2 separate regions of the Homo sapiens genome follow, and region 1 is linked to region 2. The links are contacts of gene promoters, found by promoter capture Hi-C in human tissues and cell types (Jung and others, 2019). All regions are on one chromosome and are shown on one strand. Each heading gives the region's core, a stretch centred on a gene start or on the middle of the fragment in contact. The rest is flanking DNA. Distances are from core to core; before and after follow the strand shown. Region 1 overlaps MEGF10 (multiple EGF like domains 10). Region 2 holds the start of MEGF10 (multiple EGF like domains 10).

The links. Contacts are between HindIII fragments. The study calls those that stand out against the background at their distance.
Region 1: a contact is called between a fragment that was not itself captured here and the fragment with the promoter of MEGF10 in region 2, in 1 of the 25 tissues and cell types used here (dorsolateral prefrontal cortex).

What each region holds. Positions count from the first base shown.
Region 1 is chr5:127,426,022-127,431,479 of GRCh38, reverse strand. All of the region lies in intron 13 of MEGF10 (multiple EGF like domains 10), which reads right to left. Among named protein-coding and RNA genes, the nearest start is that of PRRC1, 89 kb to the left of the region's middle. The HindIII fragment of the contact is 6,098 bases long and covers 453-5,458 here.
Region 2 is chr5:127,289,139-127,294,385 of GRCh38, reverse strand. It overlaps MEGF10 (multiple EGF like domains 10), which reads right to left and starts at 3,590. Exons shown (of 25, transcript NM_001256545.2): 1 at 3,330-3,590. LOC105379199 reads left to right here and starts at 3,650. Exons shown (of 4, transcript XR_007058921.1): 1 at 3,650-3,808. The HindIII fragment of the contact is 12,500 bases long and covers 1-5,247 here.

The DNA.
Region 1 (5,458 bases), core at 2,252-4,751, 140 kb before region 2:
CTTGGGGGACAGGTAAGATTTAGCCATTTATGATGACTTAGTTTATCAACTACTTGCCAAATCACTACTTCAAATTGCACTTAATAAATTCAGTTAAGATGGAATGGAGTACACTTTAGGTCAAAAGTATTTGCTGCTTTTTTATATCATAGGTTATCATGATTTATGTATAGCTTAGCCTATTCTCAATCAGAGCATGGTAAGAAAAATGACTACAGGCCAGATAGGCAAATCTGAATAAAGAGATCCTCTCTTTCATAACTTATTCTTCTTCCCTTAAGAGGTTTGTTCAGCTGATTAGCCTAGCCATCAGTCATAATCAACTATATCCTGGTAATGTTTGTATAAGTAACAAGGCCCACCCTATAGCAAGAAGATCCACTGCAGAGATAAGCTTGTTTCATATGGTTTACCCATCATTTCATTTCCAGAGAATCATAGCAAATTCTATAGATCATTGATCAAACCTTCTGTGTCCAATCATATAAGCATCTTTCAACAGACCCAAGCTTACTTGAAAATAACTTTTAGTTTAGAATTGCAAAGAAATGTTTCCTTTGAATATAAATTATAAAAATTCTATTACCAACACCCTCTTAAAAATTCAAGCCCTTTTATTTACTCTGTCATCAGTAAAAAATGAGTCAGCATTTTGCAGATACTAATGCCTAATCTATGTGAAGATAAATATCAAGTATGTCTCAGTTAGGGGGCAATTCCAGGGAAAGGTGTGGAGTTGTCTTTCCTCCTCTTGCTGTACCCTCTTCTCCTATTGCTGCTTCTCCCCTTCTGGCCCTCTGTGCCCTCCTAGTTATTTTTCCCTTCATCTTACAGTCAGAAAAGGACAAGATACATTTATTATTGCTGAGTAGTACCTTCTCTGGAGAATATTGATATTCTAAGAGAGCATGCATTCTAAGAGCCTAAGAAATAAATATCTAATTGTGGAATTTCAGGCAGTAAGTATCACTAAGAGAGTGTTGGGTAAGTGTTTCTCTAAGTCGCACCAGGTATATGACTGCTGATGTGACTTCCATGTAAGGATAACCCTGCAATGAAATATTCTCCAGGATGAAGAGTTGTAAGTTTTGCTTTAACCATTATTTCTGGCTCTGTGTGGGTACATGTGTATTATTTATATTTATCTCCTCTTATTTTTTGCCAGCTTTGCTAGGGTCCTACAAAACATCTTTTTGTTTCTTTGTTTGTCAAAGGCAGAAAAGGAAACCCAACTCAGCAAACATTCAAGGGATCTGGCCAGCTACTGGTTTGCTGTGAGAAGTTTTCTTAAAAATGTAACCCCAGGGTGATAATGACCACAGAACAGGCACACCCTGCTCTGCCTGGGGATCATGATCAGGAAGGGAGGTAGCTTGTGAAGGGGGAAGAGGACTGCAGGCTAAGGGAACAGTGGTGGCAAGGCTCAGAGGCCCAAAGAAGTGTCTGTCCTTTGGGAATTGCAAGTGTTGGGTACAGCTAAAACTCAGGGGCTGGGGAGAGCAGGTGAGACATCTGGGCAGCCAAGCAGTGGCCAAGTTGAGTTGAGCCAAGAGCGCCATGCTATAGAGTGTGAACCTCCCCCTGGTGTTAACAGGGACCAAATGAACAATTTTAAGAAGGAAGGGGCACAACTAAATTTGTGCTTTATAGGAGGGCAGAAGATGGCCAGAAGATGTTGAGCCTGGGAAGAAAGAAAACCTGTCAGGTGCTCTTTTACCTGCAGAACCCCCATTTGGGGTTCCCCAAATAAAAAAAATGATCAAAGTGACAAGGCATGAAACTAAGTCAATGTCAGCAGAGATGCGGGGAAGAGGAATTCTGGAGAGATATAGAAGAAAATGCAGATGAAGACTCCCCTCCAATTCTCCACCAAAGGTAATTAATTCTGGCAGCTCCCTGAGGGAGAGACAATGCCTGTTTTTGCTCACCATAGCACCTAGCACATGGGAGGTGTTAAATAAATTTATTTGTTGAATGAATCGATACACATAATTCCTATTTCCTGTATGATATTCAGGACCACTTTCCAATGGGATGGAGCAACCACAGCATTCTTTGCTTTCCTGAATAAGTCTTCACTCAAACCAGGAAGCCCAACATATTTATAGGTTGTATATCAAAAATGGTGACCCTTCCCTGCTAAGGAGGTGGAGATGTCTGCCTTGCTTATTCTTGAGCAGATACACATTTAGGGGCTCAGGTCTGTGTTTTTACATGTAAGCCCAGATTATTAGGCCATAAAGGAATTATATGACATCTTAAGGAAATTCCTTCAGAAGTTTTAGCAAAAAACAGATAGAAACTTTAATAGTTCAGGAAATAACTTCTAAAATATTGGGAAGAAGGGGCAACGTGGGAAGGGGGTAGGTTTAAATCTGCAGCCATCTCTGGTTCAATGGGAGCATTTCTTTTCTGATAAATGTTCTAATGCTGATAAGGAGATCTGTAAGGGACTGTTTTTGCCACGACTGAGAACAAAGAGCTCTTTGATAGCCTCCACAAGTTGCTAGGCAATGGCTGAATGATCGTGATAAACTTCAGCTAAGCAGCTCTAAAGAAATGTTCGTGCAATTAATGCCTGATGCATTATGCCAGCGGCCTCAATGTGAAATCAGCATTCACTGGGCATTTGTGATTGCATGAATGCAGTAAATAAATCATCTGGGGTGTCATTCTTTCCCCTCTCATAGATATAACCCCAAATCCTTGTCTTACTTAATTGCTTATATTCCTTATGCCAGTATTCCAATATTTGGAGCGTTAGTGAATGAAGGAAATTATTTTGATTCTATGTCTAGTTCCTGGGCAACAAGCTATTAAACATATATTAGAGCAAAGAGAGATATTTGTTAATAATAATTGGGCTTGGTAATTATAAGATGGAGGAACTATAGTATTTAGTCACAACACTTTTTCTGCTTTTCTAATCCTTTGACCAACAAAGCAGTGGCATAGTGTAGTGTAGTGTAGTGTAGCGTAGTGTAGTGTAGTACAGCATAGTGTGGTGTAGTATAGAGAAGTTATTCACTGGTATATCCATCTCTGCTGATAGAGCGACTGTCCTGATGCAATGTGAGCTTCTGCAGGATGGGAGTTGGCTTCACTTCCTCTCTGTGTTCCCAGCACCCAAGCATTATGGTTGCATAGAACCTGGAGACACTCAACAAATGGTTGTTAAACCAAATCTTTCTATTTGGATACTATGGATTTTAAAGACCCAGTAAAAAAGAATCTGCTTTATATAGTTCAACAAAGTTGAAAAAAGTCTTAATAAGTCATATAAATCAGAGGTGTTTGCCTTTGCACTTGCAAGACAAAAAAAAAAAAAAAAAAAAAAATACCAGACACCATGGCCTGCCTCAGTCTGGACCCAGATAAAAGCAAGTAGAAAGGATTGCTAGGCAGATCTTGGAGCTTTGGTTTTTTCTGTGGCCTTTTCTTGTTGGGGGAAATGAGCACCTCCCTTCACCCTCACAGCAGGGGCCCAGCCTTCTGCTTTTATATGATCCCCTCTCCCAAGACCAAACAGACAGACATATACATATGAACCTGCAGACACACTCTCCAGCCCTCAATACCCAAAAGGGTCAGATAGTGAGTCATTTGTACTTGTGGCTGATTGGGTGCAGGCATGTTAATTAAACTCATTTGACTAAAGTTATTACCTCCAACTTGGATTTGCACTTATATGTCACTGGACAAAGGAAGGTAGGTCTCCCCTTATTTTAACAGTTCAGGCATCCCTTAGCTGCATGAGACATCACCTCACGACAGATTAGTCCCTGAAGTAGCAGCTCACTCACTCAGCTGGTCAAACTTGCTGTTTGGTAAAACATGGAAAGGAGAGCTTTCCTTGTGGAGGGAGGCTGCGGCCACTCTAGGCCTAGTTCTGCTTGCTGGGAAGAGCGGAGAAGTGGGCTCTTCACATCAACTTGCCCACAGGTGATCCTCCTTCCGATTACACCCTTCCTGGCTGGGCTCAGATGAGCCCCCAACCTCTCCTCTTATTCTCCTACCCCTCCCCTTACAATTATACCATGCCTTGATAGTCTCTCCTCTCTTTCTCAAGACCCCTAGAGTTTCATTGGGTGTCCTATTCTCCTTTTTATCTGTTTAGTGTTTAACTTTTTTATTCTGGTATAAACACATCCTTGAACCACCTCTTCTCATTTGCCATTGATTATGTGGTTTCTGTCAAAGAAATGCACCCCAGACCCCAAGTTCTTCAATAACTAGAGTAATATGACACAGCAGATGCCACTATGCAGACCGTAACTGCCACTGCCTGCCTGGGTCACCAGGGCAGACAAAGCCACCAAGTAAGGTTTTGCAAGTTGTGCACTATGCAAGAGCCCCTGCCCAAGGGGCTAAGTTGGGGCAGAAATCCGGCTTGCACTTCATGTGCCAAGGAGTACATCCTGAGGGATTTCCAAATCTTTTCCAAATTTGTATCAAAGTTGCTTTCTGGATGGGCAGAGGCTCCATAATCTTCCTCCTCCTCAGCCACTTTCCAAATTCTCATTTAGTAGGTGTGAGGTGGGGACTGGGAATATGCAAGTTCGAAGAGTTCCCAGGTGACAGTGATCTTAGCCAGGGCTGGGAATGAGGCCGGACACTGCACATGTTCCCAGTCAGCTGGAATGAAATCTTGATTAGCTGTAATGCTCAGCAAATGGGTGTTCTGGCTGACTGAAGTCAGAGCAGAAAAGAAGACATAAACTTCAGCCTGTTTCTGTAATTTTGGGAAAATGCTTTTATAAAGTATATCACTCCACTACTCTGGAAACACACATACATAAGTATACACAAACACTCATAATTATATTTCATTGACATCTGAAATTTCAGTATAATCATTTTGAAAAGCGAGCCTCATTTTATAGCAGAGAGAGAGAGAGAGTGTGTGTGTGTACCAGAGGTCCAGAGGTGTAGGAGAAGCAGCATAGGACACAGCCTAAATCCTGAATGGTATTTCATTTTCCTCATTCTTCTACTGCAATCTGCCTCTTTTTGATAAAATAGTGTATTGGCTAAAAATGACAATAAATTAAGGTTTTAAATAACCACATACTACAATAAAATGGTACTTTTTTTGGAAATAGGATCTAAAATGTCAAACACAACTTTTATTTTGTTTACTTTTCATAACAGTATATTTTGAGGACTTATTTTATGACTAGGTAAAATAGGACTATCAATTATAATAGAAATAAAAAAGCCTCAGTTCCTTTGAGAGAACAGTCAAATGCTAGATAGTGGGTTGAAGTTATAAGAAATGGTGGATGTGGGTACACAGTAAGACAGCAAGCCATCTTCCTTGGCATCTCACCTTAGGGTGAGACTTCCTCAATTTAGTCATGTCAATTCCTTTGTAAAGAGGAACAAGGCCCTCCTGACTCTTATCTCTGGCTCCAAATCCAACTGATCAGCCTCTCCCCACAGTGTCCACAGTTGACGG
Region 2 (5,247 bases), core at 2,341-4,840:
TTCATCCATTTACTTTTCTCCAACATTCTCTAGGCATTTATTCCATAACTACTATGGGCCAGCCACTTGTATAAGAGCTTACAATAAGGAATGATGAACTCACCAATCTGTTAGGGATAAACATTCAGATAATAAATATGGCTGATACAATGTGATTATGCTATATTAAATCTATCCACAAGAATGGGAACTCGCATGAGATATCGCTAAGTTTATGAGATAATTGGGAAAAACTTCAGAGGGAAAGTCTTCAAAGGGATTTGAATAGTGTCTTAAAAGATGAATGGGTGGTAAGTGGTTGGTTAGACAGGAAAGAGGGTCAAAGACATTTTCAGAGGAAGGAACAGCATATACAGCTGGGTCATGGAAGAGTGAAAGTGCACAGCGTATTCTTGAGATAGTAACAAGATCAAGATCAGTGGGAGCTGGAGAGCTGGGGACCAGAGAAGCAGAAAATAACCCTGAGAAGTGCTGCAAAGGTGGTCTTGTGTATAGCGGTAAGGAGGTGAGACTTTATGCTGTAAGCCAGTGTTTCTCCAAATGTGATCTGACGTCAGCTTTACCAGGTTCACCTGGAGATCTCAAAATGCAGATTACTGGCCCTTACTTCTGGGGTGAAGCCCTGGAATCTATATTTTCAACATGCACCCAGGTAACACTGACATTCACCATCCAGAGAGCTGCCAAAGATTTTTAAACAAGGGAATAACATGATCAGATTTGCATTTTAGAAATACACTATTAAACCAAGCAGACAATCACAAAGAAGGTAAATTCACTGCTGCTAAATGAGCATGTGACTTGAGTTTTGCATTAGAATCACCTGGGGAACTTGTAAAAATGCAGACTTCTCACAACTCACAGAAGACTTACTACTTCTAAATCAAGGCAGAAGGGATTAGGGTTTGTATAGTTTGAACCATACAAAATTGCCATTTATTTAGGTCAAAAATGGTCAAATATCAGCAATTTCTCATAGTTCACTCTAATATTTTAACAAATCTCCCCACTTCATGCTTCTGGTATAAACCAAAGTCTGAGAATAGTGAAAGACAGACAGAGATAAACGCTTTTCCCTTTTCATTAATTATCGATGTTGTTACTCACTTTGATGAATATGCAAAGATGGAAGTAACGTAATTTATGTACCTAAAACAAATGTTAAAAGAGAAAAGTGGGGGTTCAAAAACAGCCACCAATGAAGTAAGGCAGCTAATTTAAGGATTTTGGAGCCAGAAGGAACACTGGAGGTTATTCTACTCTTTCCCCACCTCTCAACACAAGTTTATACATAATAAAACTGATGCCTAAATGGAGAAAAGCAATCTGCTTGAGGTCATAGGGAATATTTTGTTCAATTTCTCAATGATACGTGCTTTTTATGTGCTCTTATGAGCATTTTAACAGGTATGGAAATTGTGTAGCTAAAAATACTTGGGATTTAATTTATAGAGTGCTAGGTCACACACTTGAAATGGGAGGAGGCACATAAAGCCAATACTCATGCATAGCCATTTTTAAAATATAAAACCTAAAACAGTGCTTGACATGTAATAGATGGTTAATAAATACTTACTGAACAAATGAGTGACCTCTAAAAAATAGGTTAAAGAAAGTATATTAATGTAAAGGATTTCCAAGGAGGTATACAGGCTGTGAACTGAGTGTAGATTTCCCACCTCCTCACCTGTTCCAAGTAGTCTTTGGTGCCCATCCATGACCCACCACCCTATAAATTCCAGCTCTGCCATATACACCTTTATTTTTCCAACTGAAAGTGCCACAACAAAAAAGCAATACAAAGATCATGTCTGAGCTAAGTTTGACAATAGGTGGTAGTGAAGCTTACAGATGAGCACAGTCTTCAAAGTCCATCCAAATAGGAATAATAGCTAACACTTACTGACAGCTAATAGAAGCTATACTAGAGGGATACAACAATAGTTAATGCTAGCTATACAATAATAATAAAGCTAATTTGTGCCTACTATGTGTCAGGCTTGTTAGTCCTTCACATGCATTAACTTACTTAATCCCTTTAACAATTGTCTGATGTAAGTGCTATTATTATCATTTTGATTTTACATATGTGGATAAACAGATTAAGTAACTTACCCCAAAATCACAGAACTGAAAAGTGGCAGAGTTGTGAGCTGAACCCAGGCTGGCGGGTGCCCAGAGTTTACCAACTGAACTCTTTGAACTCTCAGTGGTAAAATTAAAAGTTCCCTGCAAGCTGACCTCTTGGAGCACTCGTGTCAGGAAGATGACATTTCTGGATAATATAAATTGGCCCCAGTATTTCTGTCCATAAGGAATGAAGCATTTTTATTTGGGAACCCTATACACAAAGTGAGACCCAGGATATAAAGGAGTAAGGCAAGAAGAACAAGAAGAAATGTCATTCTCTTCTGCCTTGGCACAGCATGGTTATCACAGCCTAAGAACAATAATAATGGCTAATTTTGGCTAATAAGATCTCCAACTTTGACTTTCTCCTAAATAATGTGGGTCCTTGCGTGAGGATATTTTCTAAAGAAGCAGCAAAGATATTGCCATCATTCATTTGCTCAGTGGTGTCACTAAGAAAAATACTTCCAGAAAGAAAATTAAGGCCAAAACACTTCCTTAAACCAGGCGTAAAAGTCCTCTAACAAGGAATTTAAAAGAAAAAGATCAACACCGGATTTATCTTTCTTAAGTAACTATCACTTGAAAAACCGTCCCTCCCAGCACTCCTTAAGGAGCCAAGCATACTGACAAGGCCCCTTTGGTCTAAGACTGCGACCTCACACCCCTACTGATCGCTGAGAACTCAGGAAAGGGGAGCATCCCGCCAGCCTAGAGCGTTATCTGCACAATCTGAATACCAAGGACGGGAGAAAGAGAAGTTTAGAAAACAGTGAAGATCCCAGAAAGGAAGTTCAACTGACCTAGAAGAAAGGGCCCAGCTGAAACTGCCTTTCAAGCTCAGTCCGATTCCCCACAAATCTCCCTACATCCAGCTATATCGCCCGGCAAAATGAAACAAACACAAGGTAAGGCAATACAAGGGCAGGAATTATGCAAAATAAAATGCGTAATGAGGATGTCTCTCCATCAAAAATACTCCAGGATTTTCCTACACAATCCCATGTAACAAAACCAAATGCAAACAACAATAAACCCTTAAGAAGCGCATGAACAACGCAGACTGAGCCCATCTCGCCCCACCTCACGCCGCACCCCGGTACCCTGGCTAAGGAAAATGTGACCCCCGCCCATGAGAAGCCTTCCGGCGTCCGGCCAAGGTCCAGGAGCCGCCGGAGTTGAGTTTGCCCAACTCTTACCCAGGTCCAGAGATCTTGAGAATCGCAGCGCAACCTTTTCTCCCCGGTCTTCACCCAAAGCCAGCCAAGACACAAAATCTGTTCCAATCAACGCGGTTAGCGTCCAAGCAGCGTCCCAGAAGAAAGCAATCTTTGGGAGTCTTCTTTCAGGCGTAAAGGTGGAGAAGCGGGAAAGAGGAACGTCTCAACGCGTTCCCAGTCGCCCAGTTTTGCGCACCGGGAAAGTACTTGCTGCAAACTTGAACAAGGTTTTCTCTGTCTGGCCCGAGATGCTGGAGGGGGTGGGGGCGGGTAACCCGAGCCGGGGCCGGGATTCGAGCAGTTGCCGCTGCTGCAGCTGCTGCTGCCGGGGCAGTGGCCGCTGGGGGGTTGTCGCTTGGCGCCGCGCGCAGTCCCTAGCGCAACATGCAGGATCTTCCCGGCCTGACTGCTGCACCTCGATCGTGAGTCGCCCCTGCCTGAGCGGCTTCCACCGCCTGGTGGGTGACCCCGCCAAAGGCCTGGTCGCGAAGTTAGCAAATGTTGGGGTCACCGCAGGGGGTGACCGAAGGGGTGTCAGAGTGGGTGCCCGCCTGATTCCCAACCCACGTTGGGTGCAAGTCCCTCGGCAGAGTCCCTGGGAGGTGTTCTAGACCCTCTGTAAGGATTTGTGGGACGGTGGCCGGCGCCCGAGCGGCCAACTGGAGTGGACGGCGGGTCCTCAGTGGTGTCAGGGGAGAAAGCGCAAAGGTGGGACCCAGAAAGGATGGTGATTAAGCCGTGCCAGAGAATGTGATGTGGCAGCAAAGTACATGGAAAGGTGGGGCGGGGAGGTGAAGGCAGAGGGTGGAGGGTGGGATAGTCTGCTTTACCATGGAGGGGCGGAGAGAGAACTCCCCGGACGCGCAGGAAAATCCCCCCAGGTCCTCGGAGGCCTCGCGCGGCAATTTATTGGGGAATGGCTCCCTCTGCCGACTCGCCGAGGAGGCCCCGGGAGGCCCAGTGATGGAATGTTAAAACCATGAACGGGCTTTTCCATTTGTGGGTTAGACAGGACATGAATTCTGGAATCTGCTTCTCTGACTGTCCATCTTCCTCTTCCAGACTAAAGAGTTTTCCAGCTTTTACAGGACCCCAAAAGATACAAATTTGACTGCTGCAAAGTTCTTTCTTGTGTCGTTGAATTCTATCCCCCTCTCCCCACAAAAAAACAAAAACAGGTTTAAGCCCCATAACCACTCCAGGTAACCATCTCCTACCAGGCTTCTCTTCCTCCCATTAATAAGAACTCTTTCTTTTTAGAGAGACTTCAAGAGCGTTCGAGTCCCTACTCAATAACGCTCCTGGAAAATAGTACAGACTCCATATTATGTTTGAGTGAATAAATGAATGGAATGAATGAACATAGATATGTTTGAAGCCCCTCACCATCCTCTTTACTCTCCCTGGAAATACACAGGGGAAGACTGTTTTGGTGTTTGTTTATTTGTTTGTTTAGCAGTCATCATTGCCCCTTCTCTGGTAACAGTACCTCCATTTTTCTTTGAGATACCATCCCTGCCACAAGGACAGCAGTCTGGGTGGAAGGTCAGTCAGGATGGTCCAGCTTTTCCCTGTCCAGAAGAGAGCAACTGACCTCAGCTAAGCCCCTCAGGCCCTCTCTGCCAGGAGTTGGAACTTTGATCTGGGCAGCACAGGCACAAATAATTCTAGAGGTGATTAATCCATATGGCTGTTTTCTAAGGAAATTGGCTGTTAGTTCATGCCACTTATTACCCAAAGATATTTTGCTTTATGAAACTTGGTTGCCCCACTTTCCTTTTAATTTTTTAATCAACTTTATTGGGGGATAAGTTACATTCCATATATTACACTCATATTAATTATACAGCTTCATGAGTTTTGAATAATGTACACACCCATGTAACCACTGCTTCAA